Regions from separate parts of the Homo sapiens genome. Here regions 1, 2, 4, 5 and 6 are each linked to region 3. The links are contacts of gene promoters, found by promoter capture Hi-C in blood cells and fetal thymus (Javierre and others, 2016). All regions are on one chromosome and are shown on one strand. Each heading gives the region's core, a stretch centred on a gene start or on the middle of the fragment in contact. The rest is flanking DNA. Distances are from core to core; before and after follow the strand shown.

Region 1 (2,700 bases), core at 29-2,528, 400 kb after region 3:
CAAACACCATGAATGAATAAAACAATTTCATTGCCTGTGAAGAAGTTACAGGGTTGAGGTGGAGAAGGAATTGCAGTTTCCCTGATAAGCATTGCTTGTTTCCCTTGGATGCACCCAGCACATGGAGGCTGCCATACCCAGTACACTCAGTGCTCAGTACCAAACCCGGTACCCGTACTCATTCCGTGCGTAGAGGAAGCCCCCGAGAGCTGGCAGCATCTCTGTGTGTGCTTCAGTCCATTGTGAAGATCCGTGATCCTAATATTTCAGATTGGAAAAATCCATTAAAATTTTGATTTAAAGATATGGATTCCATGTCAGCCACTGAAACAGGCCTTTGACAGTAAGAATTTTGATGACTGCTTATTCTAGGTATATTTTGTGTTAACATCAGTTTTTGTTGTTGGTAATTATATTTTCCCCCCACATTTAGAAGCTTCATGCTATTTTAACTTCAGCTGTCCTGGGTATTTGATTTGTATTTGAATTTCTGACTTAGCTATGACGGAAGCTTATTAGAGTATTTGCTTTCCTGAATCATGAACTTGTTTCTACAAGCATTGGAAGAGGAAGGGAAATAATTGGGTATTATAAAATGACTTTCTATCCACGCATTTTAAGGATTTTTTAAAAAGTATATGCTTGCTTTAGATAATGCATTAAGCAAGAATTTTAAGTTGCTCCATGCATGAAACCCTATTTCATGCCTAATTTACAATGCCTAATTTTGGTGCTAAGATTATTCTCCATGTTGTATTCTTTCATCTTTATAGACAATGGCACTTTGTTCTCCCTCCACAAATTCTGAATTTCATCATTTGGGGACACAGCAGTAGTCATCTCCGGCTTTGGCGTATGATTTTCCTTTTTTGATCAGTGCTCTGCATTGCACTGATGTTCAGGAATGAGAGCACAAGGTTCAGCTGCACGAAAACTTTCTGTGTAGTATTTTTCAAGTTTCTCGTTTCTTTCTTCCATTTTAAATAGTCTTTGCTGTGACAGACAATGGTTGTGGTTTTCATTTTTGCCTGACATGAAGTCTGTGGCCGCCATGGATTTTTGGACCTTGCCTTGAGCACACCATGGGAAACAGATGATCGAGGGTCCTGTTGCTCCCTGACTCTAACTGTGCACATTCTGCCTTGAGCTCCAGTGGAAGTGGGGGGTCACTGTGGTCACGTTAGTAGCATTGCCAGTTGCAGCTGCAAAGTCTGGCTTGGACCCTGCTAGCTCCAATAACCTTTGCACAACATGTCCAGCTCTTTGCTCTTCTTACAATCCTGGTGGAAATGTGCTAAAATCTTGGAGGAATAATTTGGCCCCATACTGCATGCTGGTCGCCAGCTAACTGTATAGCTGTTTAAGTGCTTATTCTGTCCGTTTGCTCTGCTCTGGTTCCCATAATAACCTTGGACAGGGTACAGAGTATTAGATTATTCGTGTGCACTTTTATCTGGACAAAAGATTAAGAACGTTAAAAAAATATGTGGGGAATGGCAAGAACCATGTCCATGGAGGAGTCACTTCCTTCTTAGCTCCTTCATTTCAAAGCTCTGGGGATACACAGATTGCTTAAACTTTCTGGTGACATTTGGGAAAGAATGTGTTCTTGCGGTAAAAGCAAGGTCTGGGAATTTGGATTTCTGTGTTCTGTTCCCAGCAGCACGAGGGGTCACCCAGTGACGTACGACAAGTCAGTTAAGCATCGGAATCTTAATTTCCCTATCTGTGAAATGGACATAGAAGGGTCGGTACCTTGGGCTGACATGAAGTTGGTGAATTGTTTGATGTTCTGCTGGGAACCGGCTTGCTCTAGTGACCCAGAAAAAACAGGGACTATGGTGGAGGCTGACCTCATTTCTATTTCTGGCTGTAGTGCTGACTCAGTGAGAAACTTGTAGAAATCAGTTAATCTGGCTCTGGTCCTCAGTGCATTCCATGGTTAAATTGAGAATTATAAAATCTTATCATCGCTGGTCTCATGGCGATACTGCCCATATTAATTAAGTACTAAAAATACTCCACCAAATGTATTAGAAAGCTTCTACATGGACCTGCCTTTCTCATTTCCTTCCTGTCTGATGTTGGGTTACTTGGGGCTACACAAGTCCATATTTATTTATTTATTTTAGCCGCTGTTTGGAGTTCAGTCCTATTCTGGTTTGAGCAGACTTTTCCTATATCCGAAAACTGGGTGCCCCAGATTGGTGACCTTGTGCACTGTAACTCCTTACAGCAGGATTTTCTGCCATTGTGTCCTGGGGCCATCACTGCAGGGTGTATTTAAGGAGCTCTTCATTTGAACAAGTCCTGGTCTGGGAATGTTTTTCCTTCCTCACTGTCACAGGCCTCAGGGAGAAGGAGCCAGCCTTCCCTGTCAAACCTTGGGATCAGGGCCCTCGTGGAGTCACGTCTGTGCTTCTGGCCGACTCCCTGGATGCTGCTGGCCTGAAGGGGCAGTGCCACAGTATGGGGCTTGAGGTTCTTTAATCCATTTACTGTTTGATTCAATTCTTTAGGGTTTGAAACAATCTCTCCCATATTTATCCACATACTGTGTCTAGACTCCTGACATATCCTTTCAACGAAACACAGCTCTATGGAGGTGTGGCGGCTGAGTCCCAGGTTCATAACGTCCTTCCTGCGTTTGTAAAAATGGAGCAGGCAGTTAATTCACCAGTTAAGTGCCAGGACTGGCTG
Region 2 (2,700 bases), core at 29-2,528, 280 kb before region 3:
GGAAGATGCCTTTTTTAGAAGTTTAGCATATTTAGTTTATCTCCCAAATCTTGCTTAGAAATCAAATGTATATAAGAGAAGTTAGTTACAGAGCTAGATTGATTAACTACTTCTTTAATGAAGATTTGCTATGAATTTGTTTACTCTTTCATACCACCTTCAGATAGCTAGTCAGTTCAGCAGGAGCAGAGACCAGGTTAGCACGCGGATGGGGTGTAATTCAGTGTTTTTGTGTTGTACAGCCTGAGAAATGCCAGTGGCCTGACAGCAGCAGACATTGCACAAACCCAGGGTTTCCAAGAGTGTGCCCAGTTTCTCTTGAACCTCCAGAATTGTCATCTGAACCATTTCTATAACAATGGCATCTTAAATGGGGGTCATCAGAATGTATTTCCTAATCATATTAGTGTGGGAACAAATCGAAAGAGATGCTTGGAAGACTCAGAAGACTTTGGAGTAAAGAAAGCTAGAACTGAAGGTGAGACCGCTTTGCGGGTGGGAAGAGCACACTTATTTTTCCTTTCTGTAATATGTTTTCTTTTTATGGCTGAGCGCACCTTCGAGATGAGACCTTCACTTCAGGTGGTAATGCGCCTGGTGGATTGTGCGGTGACGGTGGAGATTTCTCCTGTACTGCCACTGCGAAGATGGGACTTAACAAAAGGGAATGTGAGGGAAATACTGATGGCCCAAGTGTAAATGTCTATGTGGAACTTTTTGAGCACCCATGTTTACCTGCCATGAATTAGATTTTTTAATTTGTTGTATCTGTTTGAAATATATCTATTAAAGAAAATCTGCCACTGTGCCTGAATTTTTTTTTTTTTTTAATTTGCTTCTTGTAAATGTTCCTGGGCTTATAAAAATTGCTGATGGTCTGGCAGTAAAACATTTTCACATTCGGGAAGGTGAATGTTTTCTGTACTATTTCTGTACTATGATTTGACCTCAGTGGTCTCTGTACCTCACATGTGTGTTGACTTATCACAGCAAGATCTGGTGTATAATTTGATCTTGAGGATTTAAGTCCCTAAGGTAAGTTATTTTCGTTGTAAGTATTCTCCCACCATTTTTTTTTTTTTTTTTTTTGCTCTGTCACCCAGGCTGGAGTGCAATGCTGTGATCTCGGCTCACTGCAACCTCCGGCTCCCAAGTTAAAGCAATTCTCCTGTCTCAGCCTCCCAAGTAGCTGGGATTACAGGTGCATGCTATCACACTGGGCTAATTTGTATTTTTAGTAGAGAAGGGGCTTCACCATGTTGGCCAGGCTGGTCTTGAACTCCTGGCCTCCAGTAAGCCACCTGCCTCGGCCTCCCAAAGTGCTGGGATTACAGGCATGAGCCACTGTGCCTAGCCGTTTTTTGGGTTTTTTGTTTTTTGTTTTTAAGGTAGGTTTGAGTTTGCAAATAAGCAGTCAGCCAGTCACTCTTGAAGTTGAAAACATCTCCCTTTCCTATAGGAAAATCATCTATATCTATATATAAGATGTCTTAGGCCAGTTGTCATGGCTCATACCTGTAATCCCAGCACTTTGGGAGGCTGAGGCAGGAGGATTACTTGAGCTCAGGAGTTCGAGACCAGCCTGGGCAACATAGTGAGACCTTGTCTCTATTTAAAAAAAAAAAAAAAAAAAAGTCTTAATAAGAAGGTAAATGTGATAGCTTGGCAGGCATATTTAGTGAACTTAGGGGGAGAGGTGGGAGTGTGAAGTAATGAAGCAGATTATGAGCTCAGATTTGCTGAGTATAAGCACAAAGTTTTGCCCGTTGGTTTAAAAAAATCAACCGTGCAAGTTACAGCATAAGGAAAACTGAGTGACTATCAGTTAATCACTTAAAAATCTAGAGATTTTGGTTAAATTTCATGAACCAACATCATCTTTTCTACCTTATTTAATGAGTGTGTCCAAGTGAAACATTTTTTCCCTATAAAGTTGATAAAATGTCAGTATTATGTACTTCACAACTATATCTTGTCACCATAAAAATTCCTGTGATAAGACTTTTTATAGTAATGTATGAACTTAACAGTTTTATCAAATTCAAGATTTTTATGAGTTAAGCATTTCTGGAAAGATGCTAAAATCATAAGCATGACATGAAGATCTGCATAAAATTCAAAATGGTCTTTTTTAATGGTGATGTATTCAGCATTGTCATTTATTTGTACCATGTTTTAATATATTTTTTCTAATGTAGTTTCAACGCCTTTTTAAGAGCATCCACTTTTTAAAAAAATCCTTTGTCATTTCCTTTAATTAAAGCCTGGTTAGTATTGTAGAGTGGCCTCATGCCCTCATGCACGAATTGTACATGTCTGTCCCTGTATGTCACTGTATAGTCTAAATGTCCTTGAAAAATGATTTATGCTTCATTTTCTCTTATTGCTGATAAATCTTAAATTCTGTTTAGTATTTTTAAAAAGAGATCACTTAACATGCTAATTGGACTCAAAATGCACCTAGAAGAGTTCGTAAAACTAGTCTCAGAGTTTCTAAGGTCAGTTGAATTGGCCAATACCACATTGCTTAATTACCCTGAAAAGCATTTCTGAGGATTCCTTGTTTCCTAATCCTCGTTAACTACATAAATTTGGTTTAAAGAGTCCTGCTGACTTTGGGGGTTTTATTTTCTTCCTTTAGAAGGAGGATTTGTTTTGGTTGACCAGTGATTAGAAGTTCACATTTTGCACATTAAACTC
Region 3 (2,700 bases), core at 153-2,652:
CTCTCAGCGCCACCCAGTGCATTCTCAGTGTGTGCTGATGAAAACAAAAAGCCAAACTCTCTGACGATGCCCAACATACACACAAGGTAAAATCTATCTAATGACTACAGCAACAAATGGTGCGTTTAACCATTTCGGCCACTCACTGGCTGGAGAATCCTGGCTAAGTCACTTTCTCTGAGCTTCTATTTATCTTCTATACCAAGGTGGATAACAGCAATCTCTCCTTATGAGAAATGAGATATACACGAACTACTTCCTGTATAAAATATGTTAGATACACCAATACCAACAAGGCAAACAGAAAGACAAAAAAACCCTATGAAGAGATGGGGCTCCAAGCACTTGCTCAGCTCCTGTTTAAATTCTTTCTACCTTATCCGTTCTATTTGAAAAGGCATCTCAGCGTGCAAGGACCAGCCAAGGCCAGGGCAGGGCCCTCGGGGACATCTGGCCAGCACTTCAGGTTCTGGGGATGACTCAGGTGAGCCTCCCTCCCCAAGGGACCTCCTACACGCACACACACACCCCGAACCGGGGGCGGGCGAAGGAGGCCTGGCTGGTGGAGTCCTTTTCTGCGGCCCAGGCGTCGCAATATCCAGTCCCTCTCGTCCAAGGACGTGCAGGGTCTGTACTTGCCCAGTCGCACTGGGACTTCAAATTGGGGATGCAGACACGGCCCTGCTCCTGGTGTGCGCGAAGCCCGCTCAGCCGGCCAGCTCGCCTGCACGCCCGCCGCGTCCCTGGGCCCCAGGAGGGCCCCCGTATCCAGCTCCGACCAAACAGCAAGCCCGCAGTTGGCGAGCATCTTTCCCAGACCGGGAGCGGGGACAGAGCAGAGCAGACGGATCCGACCAGCGCACCACGGCGCCCCAGGGCCCTCCTACCGTCCTCGGCCCTCGGCCCCCCGTTCCCCGGCCACCGCGCGGGCTCCGCCGCTCCTGGGACGCGCACTGGCTCCGGCCCGGCGCCACCCTCTGCCCCTCTGTCACCCCGCACGGAGGCTCCCATCACCCAAGCCGCGCCCAGCCGTCGCCGCGCCGTTCCAGGAGGCCTCCGTCCTCTCCCTACTCCGCCCCGCAGGCCACACGGCGCCCCGGCCCCGCGCGCGGGCTGCCCCTCGGCGGCGCTTCCCCCCCGCGAGCCAGCAGAGGCGGTCAGCGGTCGGGTACCTGCGTCCAGTGGCGGCCCGTACAGCGCGAGTGCGGCCGAGAGCAATGCGACAACGACCGCGCCGGCGACGGCAGTTCCGGCCCCCGCGCGTGTGACCATCCCCGGGCCAAATGGAATCGACCTTACCTCGTCTGCAAGCCCGGATTGCCCCACAGCGAGGACCCAGGGCCATCGGGCAGCATTCCGGATTCCCAGCTGCCCCCGCGCCGTCGCCGGAAACACAGCCATTGGAAGCGTTTTCCGGTTTCCCGACCGCCTCCGCGCGGCTGTCGGCAGTGGGATCCCAACTCGCTCAATCACACCCGGTTCTAGATGATTGACAAGCGCGACGCCCAACCCGGCCTGGTCCCAGCTCTGGCCTAAGAGGTTCGGCTGGAAGGCAGGTTGAAGAGTTAACAACGATCTGGTTCAGGGTCTGGTTTGTGTTTATCGGCCCATTTTTAGGCTTGCGGCGTTATAGAAAATGATTTTGCTGGCAGGTGGAGTGCCGAGGCCCACTATGTGCCCCCAGTATAGCAGTCAGGTGCCTTTCTGCTCCAGGCGCAACCTCTGCCCTGAACCCCAAACCAGCTCGCTGCGAGGCCCCTTCGCTTTCCACCGTCTCAGGTCAGGGCAGCTCCATCACTCCAACGCTGAGGCCCAAACCCCTGGAAGGCATTCTGACCTCTCCTGCCCTCCCACCCACGCTCCTCCTGTGGCTGATGGCCTCTTACCTCCACTGCCGCCCTATTTGAAGCCACCGTCATGGTGCTAAAAGAAACTTGTGGGGCCAGGTGCGGTGGCTCGCGCGTGTGATCCCAATGCTTTGGGAGGCCAAGATGGAAGGATCGTTTGAGCCCAGGAGTTTGAGACCAGCCTGGACAACATAAGGAGACCCCCTTCTCTACCAAAATTTTTTTGGAAAATTAGCAGGGGATGGTGTGGCACACCTGTAGTCCAGCTACTTGAGAGGCTGAGGTGAAAGGATGGCTCAACATGTCAGAGGCCTTTTAACCAGAGCGATTCCATCTTGAATAGGGACTGGGTAAAATGAGGGTGAGACCTACTGGGCTGCATTCCCAGGGGGTTAGACATTCTTGGCCACAGGATGAGGTGGTGGGCACAAGATACAGGTCACAAAGACCGCACTGATAAGATGACACAGTAAAGAAACTGGCCCAAAGCCTACCAAAACCAAGATGGCCACAAAAGTGACCTCTGTGTCCTCATTGCTCATTATTTGCTGATTATAACGTATTAGCATGCTAAAGGACACTCCTACCAGCGCCATGAGAGTTTACAAATGCTATGGCAACATCAGGAAATTACTCTATATGGTCTAAAAAGGGGAGGAACCCTCAGTTCCAGCAATTGCCAACCTCTTTCCCAGAAAACTCATGAATAATCCCCTCCTTATTTAGCCTATAATCAAGAGATAACTATAACTATGTGTGGAGTTAGTTCCTGCCGGTGGGTTCATGGTCTCACTGACTTCAAGAATGAAGCTGCGGACCTTCACAGTGTTACAGCTCTTAAAGGTGGCATAGA
Region 4 (2,700 bases), core at 82-2,581, 260 kb before region 3:
CGTTGTTTACTTCTTTTGTTGCTTTGTGTGTTTGGTTCCATTCTTTATTCAGCTGCACCAGGAACCTGGACAACTCGCAGTCAAGACCTTCCATTCAGTAACAGTAGTTTCTTAAAGGCTAGTTGCAATGTTGAATCAGGATCCACATCAGTGAGCTTCTTGTATCGTTCCTGTAGAGTCCATCTTTCACTTAGAATGGACCTTTAACCCATGCATAATTTTTTATGCATTACTTGGGAAATATTTTTTAATTGAGTTCTGCAAGTCTTTCAAATGTTGAAACTTTTCATTAATATTAAAACATTGATAACCAGCCAGGTGCGGTGGCTCACGCCCGTAATCCCAGCACTTTGGGAGGCCGAGGCAGGTGGATCATGAGGTCAGGAGATAGAGACCATGCTGGCTAACAAGGTGAAACCCCATCTCTACTAAAAATACAAAAAAAAAAAAATAGCTGGGTGTGGTGGCACGCACCTGTAATCCCAGCTACTTGGGAGGCTGAGGCAGGAGAATCGCTTGAACCTGGGAGGCAGAGGTTGCAGTGAGCCGAGATCACGCCACTGCATTCCAACCTGGGCAACAGAGCAAGACTCTGTCTCAAAAAAATAAAACATTGATCACCAATAATCTCATGAAAGTCAAAAGTTGGAAGTTGTCAAGCTCATGGTACTGGATACAAGTTTTACAACATCCTGATTTTTGCTGAAAAACTCAAATTTTATCATTGGACACAAATACTGTCAGTTTTCCTTGAAGTAGAAGACTCACTTGGTTAATTTTTTGGTTTTTTTAAATTGAGACGGGGTCTCACTCTGTCGCACAAGCTGGAGTGCAGTGATGCGATTTTGGCTCCTTACAGCCTTGACTTCCTGGGCTCAAGGGATCCTCCTGACTCAGCCTTGGAGGTAGCTGGGACTCCAGTCGTGCACCACCATGCCCGGCAATTTTTTTTTTTTTTGGGGGGATGGGGTCTCACTATTTTACCCAGGTTGTCTCAAACTCCTGACCTCAAGCAATCCGCCCACTTTGGCCTCCTAAAGTGCGGGGATTACAGGCTTGAGCCACTGCATTACAACCTGGTTATTTTTTTTTTAATCACATAGCTTGTCAATCATTATTTCAAATGAAAATGACGTTTCTGAAAAAGTCACTGGATACACTTATCGCACAATCAGCCAGAGCCGTGCTTTTCCTGGAGACAGCTGTACACAACAAATCCTTCATGCACACTTCCCTTTACATCACAGAGAACGTGTGCTGTCAAAATTTACTCATGTTTACAGCATTGAGGGCATTCTTAAGTGAAATTGGGTTTTTTTCTTTTTTTTGACTGCACGGCAGTGAAGAATATGAAGGTGATCAGGCCGGGGCAGTTTTTGCTAAGGTGCTAGTAGCTTTACCCACCATTTCTTTTGAACCCTCAGTGCCGAAGTCAACACTGAAAAAGGCAAATCACATCTCGGTAATGAGACCGTTTTGATTTTGGGGACCCCCTGAAATGGGGTCCTGGGGACCCTGGGGTTCTGCAGGCCACAGTGAGAGAACTGCTGGAATGTTTTGAATGATGAGATCTAAGCAACTAGTGATAAATACTGGAAAATGTAGACTGGGTATTCATTGAATTACCCTTTTTGACTTTTCCATAGGTTGGATTTTCGGGGTTTTATTAAGGAGAAGAAAACGGGAGAATAATTTGGAGACAGAACATGGGAAACATTGAAGAGTTTCCCGGAAAGGGGGAGCCAAGAAACAGGCAGCGGGTGGAAGGGAGGAGCCCTCGGGAGGGCGGGAACCGGGGGCGGGGCGCCGGCGCGGGTGCAGGGACGAACCATCAGGAGGGCGGGAACCGGGAGAGAGGCGCAGGGGCGGGGAGAGGGGGGTGAGCCGGGCGGTTCTGGCGCGGCTCTGCTTGGGGAACCGCAGCCAAGGTTGGGGCGAGGCCGTGGTTGGGATGGGCCGGGGCGGGTGAGGGGTCCCGGGGCGGTGGGAGGGTAGCGGGGGCTGCGGCAGGGCACGGCTGGAGCTGGGGGCTGGAGGTGGACACCACCCCAAGAGTCTGCACTGAGCAACGGTAACAGTGAGCCCGGGCACAGCTGCAGCCAGGGAGACCCTGAGTGTGCGAGTGTGCGTGTGAGGATGTGTATCAGTGTTTGCAAATGCATGTGAGTGAGCGAGCATGAGGATGTGTGTCCATGTATGGATGTGAGTGTGCAAATGTGTGCGAGGACTGGGAGTGTGTGAGAGCGTGTCAGTGTGGGAATGTAGGGGGAATGTGGAGGGAAGTGTGTCGTTGGCAATGTGTGAGTGTGCAAATGTGTGAGAATGTGAAGGGAAGCGTTGAGTATTGGATGTGAGTGGTAATCTGGTGTGTGTGAATGTGTGAATGTTTATGTGTGAATGTACGTGATGTGTGTGGATGTGTATGATGTGTGCGCACGTATGAATGTTGATTTGTGTGACGTGTGTGCAGATGTGTATGAATGTGTGATGCATGTGGATGTGTGTAAATGTGGCTGCTGTGCATGTGTGAATGCTATATGTGTGTGACGTTTGTGACTGTGTGTGTGCAGGTGTGACTGTTTTATATGTGTGGCTGATGTGCATGGGTGGTAGTGTATGTGAAACATGTTATATGTGTGCATGTGTGAACGTGTGTGGCTATTGTGCACGTGTGGATGTGTGTGAATGTTGCATGTGGGT
Region 5 (2,700 bases), core at 151-2,650, 450 kb before region 3:
TTTCCACCATGGGCCTTCTCTTACCCATGAGAAGGTCTCTTTCCTGCTTTGAGGGAGAGGAGACCATGCCAGGTGCCATGTGGGCTGCCCTGAAGAAAACTGTATGGGCTCACTGAGGCTGCCACATGTTTTACTTTCTGAGAAGATGAGATGAGCCCTCCACATTTCAAGGCTGAGAGCAGAAATGTGACCAGGTGCTGGAGCCTCCAGGACAGTGAAGGAAGGGGTCTGGGTCCCTGCTTAGCCCTGAAGGAAAAGGAGCAGCTTCCAGAAGGCAGTAGGGATGTGGGTGCTGTGACAGGCCGTGCCAGCTTGGTCCTGCATGTGGTTAGAAACCAGGAGCCTTGGCCACCAAGTGGAACCAAAATCTCCCATCCCTGTCTTGTTCTCTTTGCATAGTGTGGACGAAAAGCGTCAAGCTCTGTAAAACATTTGAAGAGGTTTATTCTGACCAAATATGAGGGACCAATGACTTGTGACACAACCTCAGGAGGTCAGGAGAACATGTGCCCAAGGTAGTCAGGCTACACCTTGGTTTTATACATTTTAGGGGGACTTAAGACATCAATCAATACAGGTAAGGTGTACATTCGTTGGGTCAGGAAAGGTGGGACAACTTGAAGCAGGGGCTTCCAGGTCACAGGTAGACTCAAAGAATTTCTGATTGGCAATTGGTTGAAAGAGTTTTTATCTAAAGACCTGGAATCAATAGAAGGGAGTGTCTGGGTTATAATAAGGGATTGTGGAGAGCCAGGTTTTGTCATGCAGATGAAGCCTCCAGGTAGCAGGCTTCACAGAGAATAGATTGTAAATGCTTCTTATCAGACTTAAAGTCTGTGTTGATGTTAATGCTGGTCAGCTGTGCCTGAATTCCAAAAGGGCGGAAGGTATATTGAGGCATGTCCAACCCCTGCTTCCCATCATAGCCTGAACTCGTTTTTCAGATTAACTTTGGAATGCCCTTGGCATTCCAAGAAGAGGGGTTCATTCAGATGGTTAGGGGGCTTAGCATTTTATTTTTGCTTTACACCAGAAGCTTCCCTGAGGGGCCTGGGCCCTGGGCTTCAGGGCCTCTGCTCTCAGGCCTTGCCCAGAAGAATGGAAGATGCAGTGAGGGACCTGGAGGAGAGTGGACTGCTGTGTGTGGGCTTCGTGGCACACAGGGAAAAGCACAGGCTCTGGGTGAGTTTAAATCCTGGCTCTGCTGCCTGCAAGATGTAAGACTCCAGCATGTTATTTAATCTCTCTGAGCCTCTGTCACCCCATAAATAAAATGAGGTAATTTCTAGCACACAGGATCATTGACATGAATAAAATAACTGATGTTTACATGGCACTTGCTACATCAGTGGCACTGATTGCTGGTCATATAAAGCAAGGAAAAAAGATGTTTCCTCTTTTTATTCATTTCTACATCCTGCCAGTTTCCCTACACATATGCATTATAGATGACGAATAATTGAGAAAATCTGCAAGGACAAGGCTCGTATTCTTCCTGACCCATTTCTTGTTCAGAGTATAAGGTAACTTGTGCCGCACGTGTACCCAATATGCCGTGGGGTTATAGGATGTTAAATTGGACATTTACATGATACAATAAATATGACATTCCAGAGTGATGTTCTAGACCAAGATTCAAATCTTTAAGGAAGGGATTTAACCAAAAGTTGATTACATAAACATTGTTCGCATCACCCACACTTTGTTATGTGCATCTGTGTGAAGAGACCACCAAACAGGCTTTGTGTGAGCAATAAAGCTTTTTAATCACCTGGGTGCAGGCTGACTGAGTCTGAAAAAGGAGTCAGCAAAGGGAGATGGGGAGGGGCAGTTTTACAGGATTTGGGTAGGTAGTGGAAAATTTACAGTTAAAGGAGGTTTTTCTCTTGTGGGCAAGGGTGGGGGTCACAAGGTGCTCGGTGGGGGAGCTCTTAAGACTCATTGTCCAGGAGAAGGAATGTCACATGGTCAATTGATCAGTTAGGGTGGGGCAGGAACAAATCACAATGGTGGAATGTCATCAGTTAAGGCATAAACTGGCTATTTTCACTTCTTTTGTGGTTTTTCAGGTGCTTCAGGCCATGTGAATGTATACATGTAGGTCACAGGGGATATGATGGCTTAGCGTGGGCTCAGAGGCCTGACACACTTGAATTACATCCCCAATTGGGTAGAAGACCAGGAATATAGTCAGGAGTTCCATTTTGTTTAGGATAGGAAGGATGTTTCTACAGTGGAGACTGGTATCTGATTCATCATTTAGAGTAATAAACAGGTCACTCTGAAGATCATCTATAAAGCACAACTTTAGATGCTTATTACTTACAGATTCGCTTCTTAGGTACCCTACTTGGTCATCTAGGCAACTAGAAAAACAAGTTGGTTTTCTAACTGACTCAATTAGAAATAAAAGTAGGGCAACTTGATCTTTAGGAAAAGAGAGTGAGCAGAGATGGGGCGGAGCTTCACCCTCAACAGTGATGCTTGTACACTTCTGCTGAACCAGACAACAGGCAGCCCACAGCCTGCAAAGTCCTACCAACGAGGAGAGATGGACCACCAGGTGGTGACCACCGCTGCCTGCTCTAAACCCTGGGGAGGAGTGGAGCAGTGACCACCATCTGCTGTAAACCCCAGGGAGAGACGGAGCTGTGACCGCTGCCTGCCCTAAGCCCCAGGAAGAGATGGAGCAGTGTTCAC
Region 6 (2,700 bases), core at 164-2,663, 320 kb before region 3:
CCACTAAGGCAGATATTGTAGCACAGCTTGGTTTTTTCCAGAGGACTAATCCATGCAAACAGAATCTCTCTCCAGCTTGTCAGTTTTATCTACCTGGCAAGAAAAAACAAAAACAACCCCTCCCCACAAACACAACACAAAACAAGAGACTAAAAAATTTGGGAAAAAGCTTTTAATGCATTTCTGCAAAATCCTTTCTGAGGAGGTTTAGTACAGGTACTACCCACCAGCAACTTAGCCAGCCAGGTGAGTTGGTGCAGAAGCGCTTAGGGTGAATTAATACCAGAGTCACCGTGTGTGACTCAGCCACCTCTCCCAATTACCACAAGGAGGTCTTAAAATTGAATTTCAGTTTCAGCAGATATTTCAGATTTACCTGAGCAATATCATAGACAATGTACTCATTATACAGTAGACAGGTGTCATTCACACCAGATGAAACCCTGGTCCCAAGAGGAACCTCTACACCATCCAGTGGGATACTAGCTGAAAGGTCAGGAGTAGTTTTGCCCAAACCTTTGACACTGTGCTTGCCCTTGGGTAACTTGCTGATATGTGAAGCATGCTTCAGTTCACACACGTTTCCAAGGGCAACTTCTTCCGACAGGATTAACCCTATTGGGTCTTCCTAAGATGTATGGCAGTCGTTGGCACTCTTGGAGACAAGATCAGCGAAATAGATCACTTTACCAAACATGTAGCCCATCACAGGTGCTTCAGGCAGGGCTATCCAAAGACCCAGGGACAGGATCCCAGCAAAGTTGGTGGTCCTGGACCCATGCCACAGCAACCTTCAGTTATGAAGCTGCTTAAAGGGCTTGTAGTGCTGGCACTCCTCTTCACACTCTATCTTAAAGCTATCAATGACTTCCAAGTCATATGCATCGTGTGTGGTTGGTTGCATGAGTGTTCTTAACATACTTCCTGATGATCTCAGCTTCTTCAGAATCTCTGTCAACCACCTTAATGTCAGTTTTGAGCTTCTCATAGTTGACATCGATGGAGTCCTTCCTGCTATCGTGAGACCCTCCCCTGAGCAGACCGTAGGCTACCTCAATGTCCAGCAGGTTGTCCAGCATTTCTACCTTGGCCTGCACACTGTCTGCATTGTTCAGGAGCAGAGGATCCTTCATCCCAAAGTCGTGGGGGATCAGGATGTAAAAGCGATTTGAGAAATCCAGGATCTGAGAGTCGCTGCTGCCCTGGGACACCACCTGCTGGACCTGAGGATGGAGTACGCGGCCTGGATTTGCCTTTTGCTCAGCTTCCCCAAGGGCATCTGAAGGTCGATCTCACACCCCACCATGGCTTTGCTCATACTTTCCACATCAAAGATCATCTTGATGAGGTCCTGAACTGGCTTGGGGAGCATGGACTTGGTGCCAGGATTTACTGTCGGCTTCTTCACCGCCTCTTTGTCCTGGCCGTAGTCAATCTCCAGGGGGTAGAACTTTTTGGGATACTTTGTGAATTTTTGGAGTGCCAAGCATTCCTAGTTTTTCTTCATATAATTTCATGAAGTGTTCAGTGGTGTCCTCCTTGGACAGCATCTGTTCCAGTTTGTTGCTACCGATCACCGTGCCCACACGGTCCCAGGACTTGAATATCCAATGCCTGCTTTCCTTGTCATCCTTCAGCAACTTCAGCTTGTAATAGGAGTTGGTTCCTTTAACGACGTCCACCAGGCTGAGGGTGGCACTGAAGACCTTCCCACCTTTCTCCAGAACATGTGCAGAGTGTTCCAGACCAGAGTCAGGATCCACAGCTGCTCCTCCTTTAAGAGTTAATTTCATTCTCTTTTCAGATTTGTTGATACCTTCCTCCTTGACCTGGCCCTTGCTTTTTTTGGAGAGCACAGCTCCTGACTTCCCTCTTGGGGCTACGACTTCAACAGGCTCTGCCTTCACTTCTGCCCCCCAGGGGGACAAGATGTGCGCTGAGAACAACTCCTGGAGCCCCTTGGTGGAGGCAGAGAAGTCCTGGAGGAAGTCCTCAGACACAGCTCAGATGTTGGCTTCTTTCACTTCCTCCATCTTCTTCTTCTTCTTTTCCACCTCCTCTTTAGTGCTGATGCACGGAGAAGCCTTGTTGGCCGTCCCCATCAACTTTCCCCCGAGTTTCTCAATCGTGGCCTTCACTTCATCCTTGTTCCGGGAGAGCTTCCCAAGAGTAAGGATCTTCATGTTGGATAACGGCTTATCTGCTGGAGCAGAGGCGTTCATGGCAGCAGGCTCGGAGGCTGTGGAGGGTGGGGGCATGGCCGCCACTGGGTCACTGGTTTCTGGGGGGAATATACGGTCCTGCTTTTTAACCTTAAATTTCTTGAGTTAAGAGATTTCTCGGTGGGATCACCTATTCCTTCTGGTTGGGTGTCCATGTCTTGACCATACACTTGGTCCAGGCCGTGACGTCCCCGGTGCAGTAATAAGTGTCGCTCTTGAAGACCAGCTGACCTGAGCATTCCTCACAGGGAAGGAGGGCACCGAACGTCATGCTGTCAGCTACTCGGTCCAAGATCGCCGACTCCCCGGAAGGCACCTGCTGCCTGTTGAAGATGAGCATCTCCTTCAGGTCATTAATAGAGCACACTTTCATTAGCTCGTCCTTGATGTTCCAGATCAGGTCGTTCTGGGCCTTTAGGGCCTTTTCAAGCTTACCATCCTCGTCTTTTTCTTTTTTAGATTTCTTCTTGGCCACTTC

What was found. Contacts are between HindIII fragments. The CHiCAGO score rates a contact against its expected background, and 5 or more counts as called.
Region 1: a fragment that was not itself captured here is called in contact with the fragment with the promoter of NAXD in region 3 in 1 of 17 cell types (M0 macrophages); the score reaches 5.3 in M0 macrophages.
Region 2: a contact is called between a fragment that was not itself captured here and the fragment with the promoter of NAXD in region 3, in 1 of 17 cell types (activated CD4 T cells). The highest score is 5.3, in activated CD4 T cells.
Region 4: a fragment that was not itself captured here is called in contact with the fragment with the promoter of NAXD in region 3 in 3 of 17 cell types (total CD8 T cells, naive CD8 T cells and naive B cells); the score reaches 5.7 in total CD8 T cells.
Region 5: a contact is called between a fragment that was not itself captured here and the fragment with the promoter of NAXD in region 3, in 1 of 17 cell types (naive B cells). The highest score is 5.2, in naive B cells.
Region 6: a fragment that was not itself captured here is called in contact with the fragment with the promoter of NAXD in region 3 in 1 of 17 cell types (naive B cells); the score reaches 5.0 in naive B cells.

The regions. Positions count from the first base shown.
Region 1 is chr13:110,215,849-110,218,548 of GRCh38, reverse strand. The region is part of intron 2 of COL4A1 (collagen type IV alpha 1 chain); the gene reads left to right. Among named protein-coding and RNA genes, the nearest start is that of LINC03082, 88 kb to the right of the region's middle. The HindIII fragment of the contact is 1,530 bases long and covers 514-2,043 here.
Region 2 is chr13:110,890,806-110,893,505 of GRCh38, reverse strand. It overlaps ANKRD10 (ankyrin repeat domain 10), which reads left to right. Exons shown (of 6, transcript NM_017664.4): 4 at 243-478. Among named protein-coding and RNA genes, the nearest start is that of PRECSIT, 22 kb to the right of the region's middle. The HindIII fragment of the contact is 9,032 bases long and covers 1-2,700 here.
Region 3 is chr13:110,614,247-110,616,946 of GRCh38, reverse strand. NAXD (NAD(P)HX dehydratase) reads right to left here and starts at 1,402. Exons shown (of 10, transcript NM_001242882.2): 1 at 1,300-1,402. The coding sequence starts at 1,345. NAXD-AS1 (NAXD antisense RNA 1) reads left to right here and starts at 594. Exons shown (of 1, transcript NR_182301.1): 1 at 594-2,700. RefSeq lists enhancers at 373-422, 443-492, 1,394-2,321 and silencers at 773-932, 943-1,192. The HindIII fragment of the contact is 4,814 bases long and covers 1-2,700 here.
Region 4 is chr13:110,873,920-110,876,619 of GRCh38, reverse strand. No RefSeq gene overlaps it. Among named protein-coding and RNA genes, the nearest start is that of PRECSIT, 5.0 kb to the right of the region's middle. RefSeq lists a silencer at 1,732-1,951. The HindIII fragment of the contact is 4,114 bases long and covers 1-2,700 here.
Region 5 is chr13:111,062,426-111,065,125 of GRCh38, reverse strand. No RefSeq gene overlaps it. Among named protein-coding and RNA genes, the nearest start is that of LINC00368, 32 kb to the left of the region's middle. RefSeq lists an enhancer at 547-1,077. The HindIII fragment of the contact is 723 bases long and covers 1,039-1,761 here.
Region 6 is chr13:110,937,411-110,940,110 of GRCh38, reverse strand. It overlaps the pseudogene PARP1P1. Among named protein-coding and RNA genes, the nearest start is that of ANKRD10, 24 kb to the right of the region's middle. The HindIII fragment of the contact is 2,483 bases long and covers 172-2,654 here.